Regions from separate parts of the Homo sapiens genome. Here all the other regions are linked to region 3. Evidence: promoter capture Hi-C in 16 types of primary human blood cells and fetal thymus (Javierre and others, 2016). All regions are on one chromosome and are shown on one strand. Each heading gives the region's core, a stretch centred on a gene start or on the middle of the fragment in contact. The rest is flanking DNA. Distances are from core to core; before and after follow the strand shown. Region 1 holds the start of GUK1 (guanylate kinase 1). Region 2 has its middle 47 kb from the start of LINC01641. Region 3 holds the start of PARP1 (poly(ADP-ribose) polymerase 1). Region 4 holds the start of C1orf35 (chromosome 1 open reading frame 35). Region 5 holds the start of ARF1 (ARF GTPase 1).

Region 1 (2,748 bases), core at 49-2,548, 1.7 Mb after region 3:
TAGCTGGAATTACAGGGGCCCACGACCACACCCAGCTGATTTTGTATTTTTAGTAGAGACAGAGTTTCACCATTTTGGCCAGGCTAGTCCCAAACTCCTGGCCTCAGGTGATCTGCCTGCCTCGGACTCCCAAAGTGCTGGCATTACAGGTGTGAGCCACTGCACCCAGCCTTCAATAAATCTTTTTTAAAAATTTAAAATAATTTTTAGAAATAGAGTCCCGTGGCCAGGTGCAGTGGCTCACGCCTGTAATCCCAGCACTTTGGGAGGCCAAGGTTGGTGGATTACCTGAGGTTAGGAGTTCAAGACCAGCCTGGCCAACATGGTGAAACCCTGTCTCTACTAAAAATACAAAAATTAGCTGGGCGTGGTGGCGGGCGCCTGTAATCCCAGCTACTCGGGAGGCTGAGGCAGGAGAATCGCTTGAACCTAGGAGGCCCAGGTTGCAGTGAGCAGAGATGGCGTCACTGAACTCCAGCCTGGGTGACAAGAGCGAAACTCCGTCTCAAAAAATAAAAAAAGAAAGAAATAGGGTCTCGCTCTGTCACACAGACTGGAGTGCAGTGACACGAACACCGCTCACTGCAGCCTCGACTGCCCAGGCTCAAGCGACCGTCCCACGTCAGCCTCCCGAGTAGCAAGGACTACAGGCACAAAAAAGTTTTTAAATTTTTTGGTACAGAAGGGGTTTCCCTATGATCCCCAGGCTGGTCTCCAATTCCTGGCCTCAAGCGGTCCTCCCGGCTCGGACTCCCAAAGAGCTGGGATCACAGACGTGAACCACGCGCCCGGCCACATTCCCCAATTAATGGTTTTTGGAGAGTGGCCGGTTTGGAACGGGCTAGCGGAGTCGTTCGTTAGTTAGGTCCCTGCAGTGTAGATGGAGGACGGAAACGGCGCTGTGACATAAGCGGGAGGAGGCGGGCTGAGGCAGCGCTGTGACGTAGCAGATGAAAGCCGGGCCCGCGCTGCACTGAGGTACTTCTCTGAGTGACAAGCGGGACAAGTACGCCGTGGGCGGGGCCGGCGGGTCGTGATGTTAGTTCGCGCTGTGTGGAGGCGGGCCGGCGTGGCGCTGTGACGCAGCGGGAGAAGACGGGCTGGGAGGGCGCTGTGCTGAACGCCCCTGCGGTCGCGACAGGCCAGCGCAGGTGGAGGCGGGGCTAGCGAGGCACTGAGGTAAGTACTTCCCTAAGGGGCGGGGAAGAACGAGTGAGACATGGGCGGGGCAGTCGCCTCATGACGTCAGTCTCGCGCGCGGGCGGAGGTGGGCCGGTGCGGCGCTGTCACGTAGGTTCAGTGGGCGGAAGAGGTGGCCCCGGATGCTGCGGCGCCCGCTGGCCGGGCTGGCTGCGGCCGCCCTGGGCCGGGCCCCACCGGACGGTGAGTACGACAAGCGCGATCGCGAGGGTGACTCGGGTCGAGGCGGCAGCGGTCCCTGCGCTTTGCGGTCGCCCAGTCCACGCCGCCTCCGGATCTCCTCCTAGCCGAGACGCCCTGTGCCGCATTCAACTGTGGGCCCTGAGAACGGGGGAGCTCTGGAGGGCGGACGGGCTGGCAACGCAGCGGAGCCCGGGTCCCGGAGGGCGGGGCGCTCCTCAGGAGCTGGGCAGGCCGGCAGTTATCGCAGTGTCGAGCTGCTCCCCGGGCGTATAGGAGCGCTCGGTGTCTTCCCGACACCTGGGCGCGCCGCCAAAGAGAGCAGCTGGGAGTCCCTACCGCTGGCCCGGCGCGGTGTGCGCTCCGGTTCCCACCTCACCCTGCAAGCCTTGGGGTCCTGGGCGGATGGAGCCGGCTATTCCGGGGCTCCCAGGATTCTGCCTACTCCGCGGCACGGCGCAGAGACGGGGACTTGGGGAAACAGCAGGCCTTCCCGACGCATGGGTGTGGCATTTGGGGTTCGGATTCTCCAAAGCCAGAGTCCGGGTTGGGGTTCTTGAAGCTGCCCTGCTGCCATTCTTGAGCGTCGCCTTAGAAGTATGCCCCAGTAAGGACTGGTGTGGGAAGCAGGTGCCTCAAAGTTGATTTTGACCCTGCGTGTGGTGGGCCTCGGTTTCGTCTTTGCATGAAAGAGGTCGGTCCTGAGGCCCCGGGCTGGGTCCTGCTCTGCTGTCTTTGGGCTCATGGCCCCTTCCTGTCTCAGGCTTGCTCTGCTCTTTACCTGGGGTTGCTGTCGAGGACCCTGTGCAAGACTCGGCCGGTTTTTCTTTCTCCCTGATGGACAGACCCAAACATAGCCGCGCAGCATCGTGAAGGGCTGGGGCCTTCACTCCTCTGTGGCTCTGGAAGAGCCCGATTTCCTCAGGAGGTAAAGGAATGTTCCTGTCCCCCCCGGGGAAAGAAAGTGAAAATGAAAGCGCCCTGGCTGCTCCTGGTGTGGTCCCATTTAAAACGAGGTTGCTGAAGGCCAGGATGCGTGCTACCCGGATGTGTGCCCAGAAACCCTGCAGCCAAGAGCAGCCGCCTGGACCACCAGCCTCCCCTTCATCCACCTGGCCCAGCCCAGAGCCCAGGCCCACGTCTGGTGGTTTGTGTCTTACGAGAGGCCAGGCGGGGGCTGAATTCTCTCGGTTCTCAGAAGGTCAAGCCCTCTGTTAGCATCTCCTCGAACAGTGGGCCGGGGGCAAGGTGGTGACTCTGTTCAGTCCTTAGGATGGCTGGAAGCCAGAAGGAGGAGATTATGCCGCCACAGCAGGGAGTGCCTTTCCAGGAAAGCGGCTGCTGGGGCAGCATGGGAGCCCAGTCCAG
Region 2 (2,700 bases), core at 32-2,531, 1.0 Mb after region 3:
ACGTATTAGTACACTTAAAAAAAATCTAGAGATGCAAATTTCAAGTTGATTTCCAACCAGGGCGTGGACAGGGTCACTATAAGAGCAGAGAATATAGCTTCTGGGTTGGGATACACACTGATGTGCCCCTTCCCAAACAGTGCCTCTCTTTCCCACAACTACTGGAGCACGGAGTAATGGAAATCGTGTACTGCTAAGTTATAAGCATATGTAAAAACACAAAACTGGGCCAGGCACAGTGGCTGGTGCCTGTACTTTCAGCACTTTGGGAGGCTGAGGTGGGAGGATTGCTTGAGCCCAAGGGTTTGAGACCAGTCGCTACTGAGGCAGCTGAGGCAGGAGGATCCCTTGAGCCCAGGAATTCTAGGCTGCAGTGAGTTATGATCAAGCCACTGCACTCCAGCCTGGGTGACAGACAGCAAACTTCTCTTCGAAAAACAAACTAACAAAAAAAAAAACAACTCACAGAACTGTACAAAACACCACATCTGTTCCCCTCTTGACCTTTATTTTCACCCCAGCCCACAGGTAAGATACAACCACCAGTCCTGTCTCCTAAATCAGTGGTTCTTAAACTGTTGTTCCCAATCAGCAGCATCAGCGTCCCCTGGGAGCTTGTTAGACATGCAAAGCCTGAGCCAGGTGCGGTGGCTCACACCTGTAATCCCAGCACTTTGGGAGGCCAAGGTGCATGCATCACCTAAGGTCAGGAGTTCGAGACCAGCCTGACCAACATGGTGAAACCCTGTCTCTACTAAAAATACAAAAATTAGCTGGGCGTGCTGGCACAGCTTGTAATCCCAGCTACTTGGGAGCTGAGGGAGGAGAATTGCTTGAACCTGGAAGGCAGGGGTTGCAGTGAGCCGAAATCGTGCCACTACACTCCAGCCTGGGCAACAAGAGTGAAACTCCATCTCAAAAAAAAAAAAAAAAGAAAAGAAAAAAGAAATGCAAAGCCTCAGGCCTCATCCCATTATTACTGAATCAGAAACTCTGGGGGTGGGTTCCACAAATTTGCATTTTAACAAGTTCTCTGGGTGATTCTGATACACACACGAGCTTGACAACTGTTCCAAATGCAGATGCTGAAAGCGCATACAAGGATGCAGTTTGTTGGCTAAAAGATGTCAAACAAGGGTGTAACCAAGTCTAGCTAAAACGTGAAGCTCTGGAATCAACACCTTCCTCCTGTAACTTCAACTCCCTCAAATGTCATATGATGTGGCGTTTTGGTCCAGACCACCCCAGCAGCTTTAGTGGGGTCAGCCCACCTCAAGAGCCTGGTTATTTTCTCCGGGAACTGAAGCAAAGTTGTTGGAACAAAGCTAGTAATCCGAGGTAGAGTTAAATAGAGAAGTCCTTGGGGACCCTATATCTCCCTATTTTGTTTTCTAATCTTTAGGATCAGTAGTTCATTTCCTAATCCAGCAAGAATGGTTGGCAAGTCTGGGCTGTTAGGTGGGAGAAACACCGCCCTGGAACACTGAGATCTCGTTGTACACAAAGGAAACAGCGTGGTCCTGCTAACAGCTTGGGAACTGAGATAGCAACAGAACCACCAACAGAACCCCGTGAAAAGAGGACAAAAAGCCATTTATCGTATGGTTGTTCTTTTCTGATAAATATGAAAGTTACAGAAAAGTCTAAATAATACTGTAACTGAAACCTATATTCCCACCACCTTGATTAATAACTGTTAACACTGTGTCAAATTAAACAGCAGTTTTGCAAAGCTGTGAAAAACTGCATCTGGCAGTGAGCTGGGAAACAAAGAGGAAAACAGCTAGAATAGGGAGAAATGAGCTAAGTATTTCTGAAATAATTTTTTAACAAAGAATGTCCCCATTCTTTTATCAGAAAACATTTCAAATATGAAGTTTCCACAGAGCCACTAATAATAGTTTGTAAATTTGCGTAGCTGGAGGCTGGAGAGTTGAAATTTACAAGTAATGAAGAGCAGAAAAATAGCTGTAGAGGAAGCCAGCTCGTTTCCTTGGGGAAAACAGAATATGCTTTAGGACAACCCCCTACCCTCTGAAGAGAGCAGGAAAGAAATCAGGCTGGTTCAACAGAAATCCGGCTGCAGATCAAGAAAGTGTGAGGCTTTCCCATCGCTGTTTATGGAGTTGAGGCCAAACGCTGGAAGACCCACAAGAAAGAACTGTTACCCAGGGCATTCCCTCGCTGGCTGACCTTGGACTATCTGCTTGGTGTTACCCATCAAAGCAGAGGGGCAGTAAGAACATGCACTGAAGTAAGAATCATGAGCTATTAGTGCTTCTACCCAGGGTGGGGAAAACATGGAAGTGTGGAGGCTGGAGGGCTGCTTTCCAGAGGACAAGGTCACAGGGAGCTGAGCTGGCCAAGGAGCAGGCAGGAAGGGCTGTCATCTTTGCTCTGATTCAACCAGTTTTACAGTCACCATGGCAGCCCCTGTGGCAACATCCAGAACTTCTGAAATGATAACTCCTGCAGCTCTGAGGGTGTGTCTTCTGTTCTTTGACAAGTGCATTCCATTGCTGAAGGGGAACAAAATTTAAAATATTTATCCTGGCTGGGCGCGGTGGCTCACGCCTGTAATCCCAGCACTTTGGGAGGCCGAGGCAGGCGGATCACGAGGTCAGGAGATCGAGACCATCCTGGCTAACACAGTGAAACCCCATCTCTACTAAAAATACAAAAAATTAGCCGGGCGTGGTG
Region 3 (2,700 bases), core at 103-2,602:
ATGCCCCGAGGACACCAAGATGACAGGCATATTGTGAAATAAGATAACGGAAGTACACCTGGCACTTGGGTATCCACTCGGTAAATGTCGCCCTCCCTTGTACTAAGTACTGAAAATCCACTGAGGGATATCTGGTCATTCCTAAAACACATTACAGCTCATGGAAGGGAGGAAAATCAAGCTACCTTGACCATGAGCACTAAGCTTGGGTAATATGTTGGAAGCGAGGAGGAACAGGGCAGATGAGAACCAGAATTATTAATACAAAGGTAGACATCGGCAAACTGGAAGCTGGAGGCAGGAGCCCCTGGGAAATGACAGGGGCCTTCAAGCCCACCACCTCACAGAAGGCTCAGGAAACCTCAGAAGGGGATTCAATCTATCAAAAAGCCCACATGAGAAACCCCCCTGGAGCCACTCTTACTCAAACCAGACAGCTGCAAATGCACCAAGAGAACGCGTCTGTGAATCTGGAAAATTTGGGGAAAATGTTACTTTAAAGCACAAATTAGGCTCAAAGTGAATGTACTGTACAGAAATGACACCTTTCTGCATAGTTCTGCCTAATTAAAATAAAAAATGAGAGTGAGCGTTTAAATGACGTGTTGAAATGACTGCCAAAAATAGGTTTAACAAAAAAAAAAAAAACCCACATGTCAGTCGCCACCATCCATGTAGAACAAAAACCCTCCAGAACAAGATAGGTCAAAATCAGATTAGCTTAAAGAGACCATGTACAATTCCCCCCCAACCCCTGAGGCGAACGGCAGTAATAAAACACCGCCACCCAGAAAGGAGAAGAGAAGAGGCTCCTCGTTTTCACAAAGCGAAAGGCAACACCAGCTGCAGACTTTATTTCCCGGGCTTTTCCTGCAACATCAGCAAAACCTTCCGGAAGGGTCGGCCGGGCCGCTCGGGAGGAGGGGCGGCCGCGGCCCCATAGGCCCCAAGTGCCGCTCCGAGGGCCCGGGCCCGCTCGCTCCCTGGGCCCGCCCTCCCCCAGCCTTCCCGGACACAGTTAACCCGGGGCGCCGCGTCCCCGCCCCGCCGCCCGCACAGCGGCCCGCACCTGCACCATGATGGCCATCCGGAGCGAGTCCTTGGGGATGCTCTCGCTGCATTTCTTGCAAGAGGCGCGCCCGCTCTTGGCGTACTCGACTCGATAGAGCTTATCCGAAGACTCCGCCATCCTCCCCTAGCTGCCGCCAAAGCTCCGGAAGCCCGACGCCACGACCTAGAAACACGCTGCCGCCTCGCCGCCTCGCGTGCGCTCACCCAGCCGCAGGCGCCTGAGCGGCCAGAGCCGCCACCGAACACGCCGCACCGGCCACCGCCGTTCCCTGATAGATTGCTGATGCCTGGCCGCGGGAACGCCCACGGAACCCGCGTCCACGGGGCGGGGCCGGCGGCGCGCGCGCCCCCTGCCGGCCGGGGGGCGGAGTTTCCCGGGCGCCTGCCGGGTGGAGCTCTGCGGGCCGCTGCCCTGGGGGCCGAGGCGGGGCTTGGGCTGAGCTAGTAGCTCTTTGGAGGACCCGGCGCCACCCCTTTGATTGTTCTGTCCCAGGAAGTCTTACTTGATTTCACAACTAATTTTACCCCCAACCCCTCCCCCTTTTATTTTTGAGACTGAGTCTCACCGCGCTGGAGTGCAGTGCCGCCATCATGGCTCACTGCAGTCTGGAACTCCTGAGCCCAGCGATCCTCCCACCTCAGCCTCCCGAGTAGCTGGGACTACAGGCGCTCACCACAACTGGCTAATTAAAAAAAAATTTTTTTTAGGGACAGGGTCTCGCCAAGTTGGCTAGACTGGTCTCAAACTCCTGCTACAAGTGATCTTCACGCCTCAGCCTCCCGAAGTGCTGGGATCAGGGGCATGAGCTACCACGCCGGCCCCAAACTCTTAAGTGTGTCCTCTCTCCCCTGAGGGCAGCTGGGTCCGGGAAGCGCAGGCCCCCGCCTCGGGAATATAGTTGATTGGCCCGAGGTGGACCCTGCAGTGCTAGGTCCACCCTCCTGGCTTGGACGGGCGTTCTAACCTGCCGTCCACAGACCGTCGGGACAAAATACCAACTGAAACCTAGCATTTCCTTTATTATGAATTTGACTACAAATACCAGGAGTATTAGCAGTACCTGTGACTTTGTGGGCAATAGTCATCACAGACGTTTTCATGTTACTTTACAGTTGTTGGTGATAACTCGAAATATTATTAAGCTCATCACTACTCGAAATTGTGGTAATGACTGCACCTGTTGCTATCAGATATTTTGTGTGTGTGTGTGTGTGTGTGTGTAAAGAAAGAGATGGGGAATCTCTCCATGTTGCCCAGGCTGGTCTTGAACCCCTGGCCTCAAGCAATCCTCCCACCTCGACTTCCCAAATTGCTGGGATTACAGGCATGAGCCACTGCACCTGGCCTAGATCTTGTTGTTTAATATAGAACTATACTTCAAAATATAGTTTATTAAAATTGGTTTCTTTTCTAATCCTATGCATTTTTTTTTTTCATTTCAAAGATTGTAACATGAGTGTGCTTTATTTGAAAATATTCAATTCTGGTATAGAGGATAAGAAAAATAAGCAGATGAATAAAACTCATAAAAAGTGTTAACCATAGAGAAGAAGCTAGTGGCTTAAGAGACAAGGATGTTGAGTAAGCAAGAAGGTTGTGAGACATAGGCCGAATCCTAAAAGTTAGTA
Region 4 (2,700 bases), core at 184-2,683, 1.7 Mb after region 3:
CAAGGGTGACCCGAGAAACTCCCCTAGAGAAAAACCTAGGAGTAACTGGGACAGGAAGTAAAGTAGGGCAGGCCACCCGCCGGGCCGGTGCGCCAAGAGAAGCTGCCACCTGCCCGAGTGGGAGCCGCTCCGGTCCTCCCGAGACCCCCCACCCCGGGGCACAGCTAGCCCAGGTGGCACAGCCTCACCTGCTTTCCGTCTGATCCTCCGCCCGCGGCTTCCTCCTGGCCGAGGCTGCCGAGGTCCCGGGCCCGCCGCTCTCTACGCGGTGATGCTGCGGGAGAAGCGAGCTCTGCGGAGGAGTCTGCGGGCCGGCCCCACACCACGCCCCGCAGCGCCCCGGGGAGCTCCGTTCAGTGCCCCCGCCCCGCCCCACCCCTGTTAGCCCCTGCTGCGGTCAGGCGGGGCGGGGGATTACCGTGAACACAGACAGCCCCAGTTTGGCGGCCTCCTTGTCCTCTCGGGACATCGCCACGCGGCCCACGGAGCCACTGCAGGGACATGGCGATGAAGACAGTACGGCAGGGGTCCGCCTCACCCGAGCAATCGAGCCCAGTGCTGCCCTCCCCTGGAAACCCGCCCGCACCTTGCGCTCCCCAGCCCCAGCAGCCGGTCCACGCCCTTCTCCTCGGGGTCGCCTCCTTCCCGCTTGCAGACCTCCGCGAAGTCCTGCAGGTGCGAGAGCACAGGGAGCGCTCGAGTCGGCCCCACACCCACGGCCCTCCACGCGCCCCCCACCCCGGGGAGTTACCTCCTTGCTCAGGCCCGTGGGCTGCTTCTTCACGTTCTTGTAGCCACTGCGAGAGGGCCGGGGCAGGCGTCAGGACGGACGGACCTCCTCCCACCACAGGTCCTCACCACTCCAGCCTTCGTCCTCAGGGTCCCGCCCGCGCGAGTCCCCGCAGCCCCGCTCCCGCCCAGCCCGACCCCCAGTCCCCGGCCCCGGCCCCACCCTGCCCCGGCAGCGCCGTCCCAGGCACCGACCGCTGCCGTCCGCGGACACTCACAGGGCGGCCAGCAGCGCCTCGCGCTCCGCCTCCCGCACGGCTGCCAGTTCCTCCTCGCGGCTCGGGCCCGCGCATGGCGCCCGGCCCTTGGCGTACCAGGTGAGGTCGCGGCCCTTCTGCCAGCGGCCTACCGGCGCCATCAGCGAGTTGCCTGCGGACGTAGACGCTGTGAGTCCAGCGCCCGCCCGGGATCCCGGAGCCCGGAGCCCGGAGCCCGCCCACCGCGCGCACCCACCCAGGTAGTTCTCCCGCTGCTTGTCAGTCTTCACGTCCTCCCAGTTGAACTGGTCCTGCCCGCCGCGCACGCCTCCACGACTGGAGCCGAACATGGCGCCGGGAAGGCAGTTGCCTGGGGCCTGCGGCTTGCAACCTGCAACCCGCAACCCGAGACCCGCTACCCACTACCGTCGGACCCAGGCCCGACCCCGCCTCCGCGTCGCGCGCCGTGACGTCACTCCCGCGCCCACTCGGCTTCGCCGCGCGCCTCTGCGCAGCGCACTGCCCCGGATCTGTGCTCCCGCGCATCACCTCCACGTCGGCTTTGGGCGCCTGCGCACTGCGCCTACCCTGCCGGGCGCGGGAACGCCTCTGAACTGGAAGTTTAAAAATGGTTAAAACGGGGCCGGGCGGAGTGGCTCTCGCCTGTAATCCCAGCAAGTTGGGAGGCCGAGGCGGGCGGATCGCTTGAGGTCGGGAGTTCGAGACTAGCCTGTCCAACATGGTGAAACCCGGTCTCTACTCAAATACAAAAATTAGCCGGGTGTGGTGGTGCACACCTGTAATTCCAGCTACTCAGGAGGCTGAAGCAGGAGAATCACTTGAGCCGGGAGGCAGAGGTTGCAGTGAGCCGAGATCGCGCCACTGCACTCCCGCCTGGGCGACAGAGCGAGACTGTCTCAAAAATAAGAAGTTAAAATGGGCCAGGCGCGCGCGCGCCCCTGTAGCCCCAACGCTTTGAGGCTGAGGCGGGAGGATCTCGAACCCAGGACTTCGCGCCACTGCACTCCAACCTGAACGAGTGAGCGGACCCTGTCTCATAAAAAAAGAAAAAAGAAAACACACAAGATGCGCCTAGTTAACACCGCCAATTGGTCACTGCTAGTCGCGATTCCATATCGGGAGCTTAACAAGGTAATGACCTTAATGATTTGTGGAATTTCTGAGTATTACCCAGTAAACTTCTGGATGAACCAGCAGCTACCCAGACACCCTCAGAGCACTGGTCCTATCCCTGCCGTGTTAAACTGAATGTGCACCCTAACTCCCATGTGAAATCCTCACCCCAAGGCGTTGGTGCTTCGGAGGTGACTAGGTCATGAGGACAGAGCCTTCATAAAAGGGACCCCAAGAGCTTTGTGCAGCTTTCTACTGTGTGAAGGCAGCGGGAAGGAAGTCTGCAGTCTGGAAGAAACCCCTTACCAGAACCTCAGCGTGCTGGGCACCCTGATTTTGGAGGTTGTGACGTACCCCTGCTTCCCCTTTCCACTTTCATTCCCAGTGCTGACTGAGAAACAGAGTCCCTTGGCCACTCTGTGACTTCGCCAACTGTATAATTTCCTCTGCAGACTTGAACCCGAGCCATAGCCATGAACGTTCCCAGGCACAGATGACAGTAACTAGGTTGTTGCTCAAAACACAGAAAGAAACTGGACTCAGCCTGAGCCAGATTCCTCAAACCCTCATATAAATTCCA
Region 5 (2,700 bases), core at 138-2,637, 1.7 Mb after region 3:
AACCCCCGTGAAATGTCCGCACATGGCCCCGCTCTGGCTGAGCAGGGAGAGGCAGCACAACCAGAAGGTTCCACAGGCATCCACAACCCTCCCTGGGGCTTTCCAAGAGTATCTGAGATGCCTGTAGGGTGGGAGACGTCCTTCCCCTAAACAGACAACCCTGCCACAGCTTCACAGAGGTGAGATTTCGGAAGGGAGCCCCAGGCAGAAAAAGGGACTAAATTTGGGGGCAGGAGGGTCACCGCTTTTGGGGACCTTCGTAGCCCCCGCAGGTGCAGCCCTGGGGGAGAGATCTGCCCATCGCAGCCTCCAGAGGCAGTGAGGACGCCCTGCCCAAGGGGCAAGCAACGTAGGTGATGGGGGCAGCAAAGGGGCGCAGGAGGCCTGGGCCAGGCCCAGTGATCCCACCCCTCAGGCCCTGCCCCCGGGCCTCGGCCTGCACAAATCAGGTTGATTCCCGACCTCCACAATACCCAGGGCACTGTGCTGCAGGGACACTTTCCCACAAGCCCAACCCCTCACAGCAGCACAAGGGAAGAGGCAAGAAGACCTGAGGGTGGTGGGCAGAGCCAGGCCTCCAGCACACGGAACACAGAGGGACTGCAACGGTCCTCTGTTCAGGTGCCTGAGAGCGGGATCTCCTCCGCCTCAACTGGATCTCAGCTTAAAGGCCAGCTCATTAGAGACCACTGTGACCTCCCTTCTGGGCGGCCGTCCCCAACCCTGGGCCCCACCCCCACGGCCCCCGCCTCACCCCGGGGTCCCCAGGCCACCTCCTCCTTTGCTTCATCTGCGGCCAGCTCCCCGGCGTCTGCTCCGGGCCCAGGTATGAGCCCGCGCGTCACTGCGGCCGCCGGGGCGCCGAGGCCAGTGCGGGGACACAGCAAGCCTCCCGCCTTCGGACCTTCCGCCGTGGCCCCGCGAGTGCCACAGGTTTCCACAGGGCCGGGGCACGTGGACCCGCGCAGCCTGGGAGCCAGGAACCCCAACCCCGGCGAGGGGCGCCTCGCACCCCCGTCCTCACGCAGTCCCCGAGGCCTCCCGGTGACTGCCGGGTGTGGGAGGAGGAAGGTGGCAACCAGCCCCGCAGCTCCAGTTGCTGCAGGAGCCCCCCGGGCCTCAGTCTCCAAATACGCCAAACGGGCGGGAGTGAGCCACAGGCTGTCTTCGCGGAAGACTCACAGGCGCAGGCGCAGACGGGTGCGCGCCCCTAGGGTGCGCGCGAGCTAAGACCGCGGCCCGGGGCAGGGTGTCCCCGGCCCCGCCCCCTGCAGCCCTACCGGAGCCAGCGCGCCTGCGTCGCGGGCGCACGGTGGGCGGAGTTCCCGGCGTCTCCGCCCCTTACCCGGCGTGCCCCGCGCCCGGAGGCGCTGACGTGGCCGCCGTCAGAGCCGCCATCTTGTGGGAGCAAAACCAACGCCTGGCTCGGAGCAGCAGCCTCTGAGGTGAGGGCGAGGGGCGCGGGCCGGTGTGGGCCGCAGAGACGTTGGAGCCGGCGGGGGCTGGGGACTGGCCTCGGGGCGACTTGAGGTTCGCGAAGGGCACGTCGACCCCCGCGGCGGCGGCGGCGACAGGGCCGGGCCGGGGGCGGACGCAGACGGGCCGGGCTGAGGCTGGGGCCCGGCCGGAGTCGGGGCTGGGCGGACGGGCGGGTCGGTGAGCTCCTCGCACCCCTCACAGGTTCCCGAAGTCGCTCGCGGCCGCTTGTCCTCCTCTGCCTGTCCCTGCCCCCGCCCGTCGCCCGGAAGTCCGCTTGGACGCCGGGCTCTTCTCCAGGAAACCTGGGCTTCCTGCTTCCCTCGCCTCTGCCTTTCTCGTTTCCCGAGGCCGCCCGCGCGTGGACGGTTGGGATTAGCGGCCGCGGGGGCCGGTGGGGGTCGTGGGGCCTCCCCCACCCGAGTACAGGCGAGCGAGCGGCATCCGGGCGGACCCCCGCCTCGGGGACCGGGAAACTGAGGCTCGGGCGGCCTGAGACGCCGTCAAGGTCATGTAGGTGGTGGGGGCTTGCATCTTCGCCTCCCGACTCCATCCAGTTCGTGTTTGCTGTGAAGACGGTACCGGGTCAGGGGTGGTGAGAGCGGGCGGGCAGGTGGACAGGAACCCCGTGCCCTTCCCTGTCTGCTGAACGGAATGCGTGGACCTCCGGGGGAGCCCAGAGTGCCTCCCTTCACACCAGTGAGACGCAATTTGGGGTCAGCACTCAGGGCACCGGTGGCCTCCAGAGGGCCGGTCGATCTTCGCTTTAACTCCAGGGTGGTTTCCTTGACGTTGTCGGCAGTAGATAAGAAGGCCTCTTCTGAGCTGGTGAATCTTTAACCTACCTGAATCTTTAACCTGCCTGCGGAACGACCTGCTCGCAGACTCTAGGCCGCAGAGGCCGGCCCCAGCGCTCTCTCGGAGCACAGCCTGGGTGGTTACGGCGTGTGAGATTGGGGCTGGACAGCCGTGCGCACCTAGAGTGTTAAATAACCATTCCGACGGCACCTCCTGGCACTCCCTTTCAGTCCAGGCAGCCAGTTGCTGCTTTGCAGGAATTGAGCAGAAATGCACTCGGAATCGCGGGCAGGAAAAGAAGGGAGGTCGGAGGCTTTGGATGGTCCCCGAAGTCGCCGCCTAGTTGAGAGCTGTAGAGTTGGTGCCACTGCCCCTGTTGGAGTGGGCAGTTGTAGTTCTTGTTTCAGAACTAGTGGTCAGCAGTTT

What was found. The method cuts DNA at HindIII sites, captures the fragments that hold promoters and counts their contacts. A CHiCAGO score of 5 or more calls a contact.
Region 1: the fragment with the promoter of GUK1 here is called in contact with the fragment with the promoter of PARP1 in region 3 in 1 of 17 cell types (neutrophils); the score reaches 5.2 in neutrophils.
Region 2: a contact is called between a fragment that was not itself captured here and the fragment with the promoter of PARP1 in region 3, in 3 of 17 cell types (M2 macrophages, M1 macrophages and M0 macrophages). The highest score is 6.9, in M2 macrophages.
Region 4: a contact is called between the fragment with the promoter of C1orf35 here and the fragment with the promoter of PARP1 in region 3, in 1 of 17 cell types (naive CD8 T cells). The highest score is 7.5, in naive CD8 T cells.
Region 5: the fragment with the promoter of ARF1 here is called in contact with the fragment with the promoter of PARP1 in region 3 in 1 of 17 cell types (neutrophils); the score reaches 6.8 in neutrophils.

The regions. Positions count from the first base shown.
Region 1 is chr1:228,138,981-228,141,728 of GRCh38, forward strand. GUK1 (guanylate kinase 1) reads left to right here and starts at 1,299. Exons shown (of 8, transcript NM_001159390.2): 1 at 1,299-1,383. The coding sequence starts at 1,323. RefSeq lists enhancers at 926-975, 1,086-1,315 and a silencer at 1,326-1,885. The HindIII fragment of the contact is 28,593 bases long and covers 1-2,748 here.
Region 2 is chr1:227,438,898-227,441,597 of GRCh38, forward strand. No RefSeq gene overlaps it. Among named protein-coding and RNA genes, the nearest start is that of LINC01641, 47 kb to the left of the region's middle. The HindIII fragment of the contact is 6,782 bases long and covers 1-2,700 here.
Region 3 is chr1:226,406,741-226,409,440 of GRCh38, forward strand. PARP1 (poly(ADP-ribose) polymerase 1) reads right to left here and starts at 1,353. Exons shown (of 23, transcript NM_001618.4): 1 at 1,070-1,353. The coding sequence starts at 1,189. RefSeq lists silencers at 928-1,027, 1,278-1,537, enhancers at 1,568-1,697, 1,876-2,020 and a cis regulatory region at 1,948. The HindIII fragment of the contact is 6,506 bases long and covers 203-2,700 here.
Region 4 is chr1:228,101,892-228,104,591 of GRCh38, forward strand. It overlaps C1orf35 (chromosome 1 open reading frame 35), which reads right to left and starts at 1,434. Exons shown (of 8, transcript NM_024319.4): 1 at 1,243-1,434; 2 at 1,008-1,158; 3 at 752-797; 4 at 587-669; 5 at 419-491; 6 at 189-274. The coding sequence starts at 1,336. RefSeq lists enhancers at 1-200, 201-920, 921-1,641, 1,642-2,361 and silencers at 269-348, 599-768, 929-1,198. The HindIII fragment of the contact is 8,620 bases long and covers 1-2,700 here.
Region 5 is chr1:228,081,321-228,084,020 of GRCh38, forward strand. ARF1 (ARF GTPase 1) reads left to right here and starts at 1,388. Exons shown (of 5, transcript NM_001658.4): 1 at 1,388-1,445. RefSeq lists silencers at 685-814, 825-1,644, 1,675-1,774. The HindIII fragment of the contact is 7,793 bases long and covers 1-2,700 here.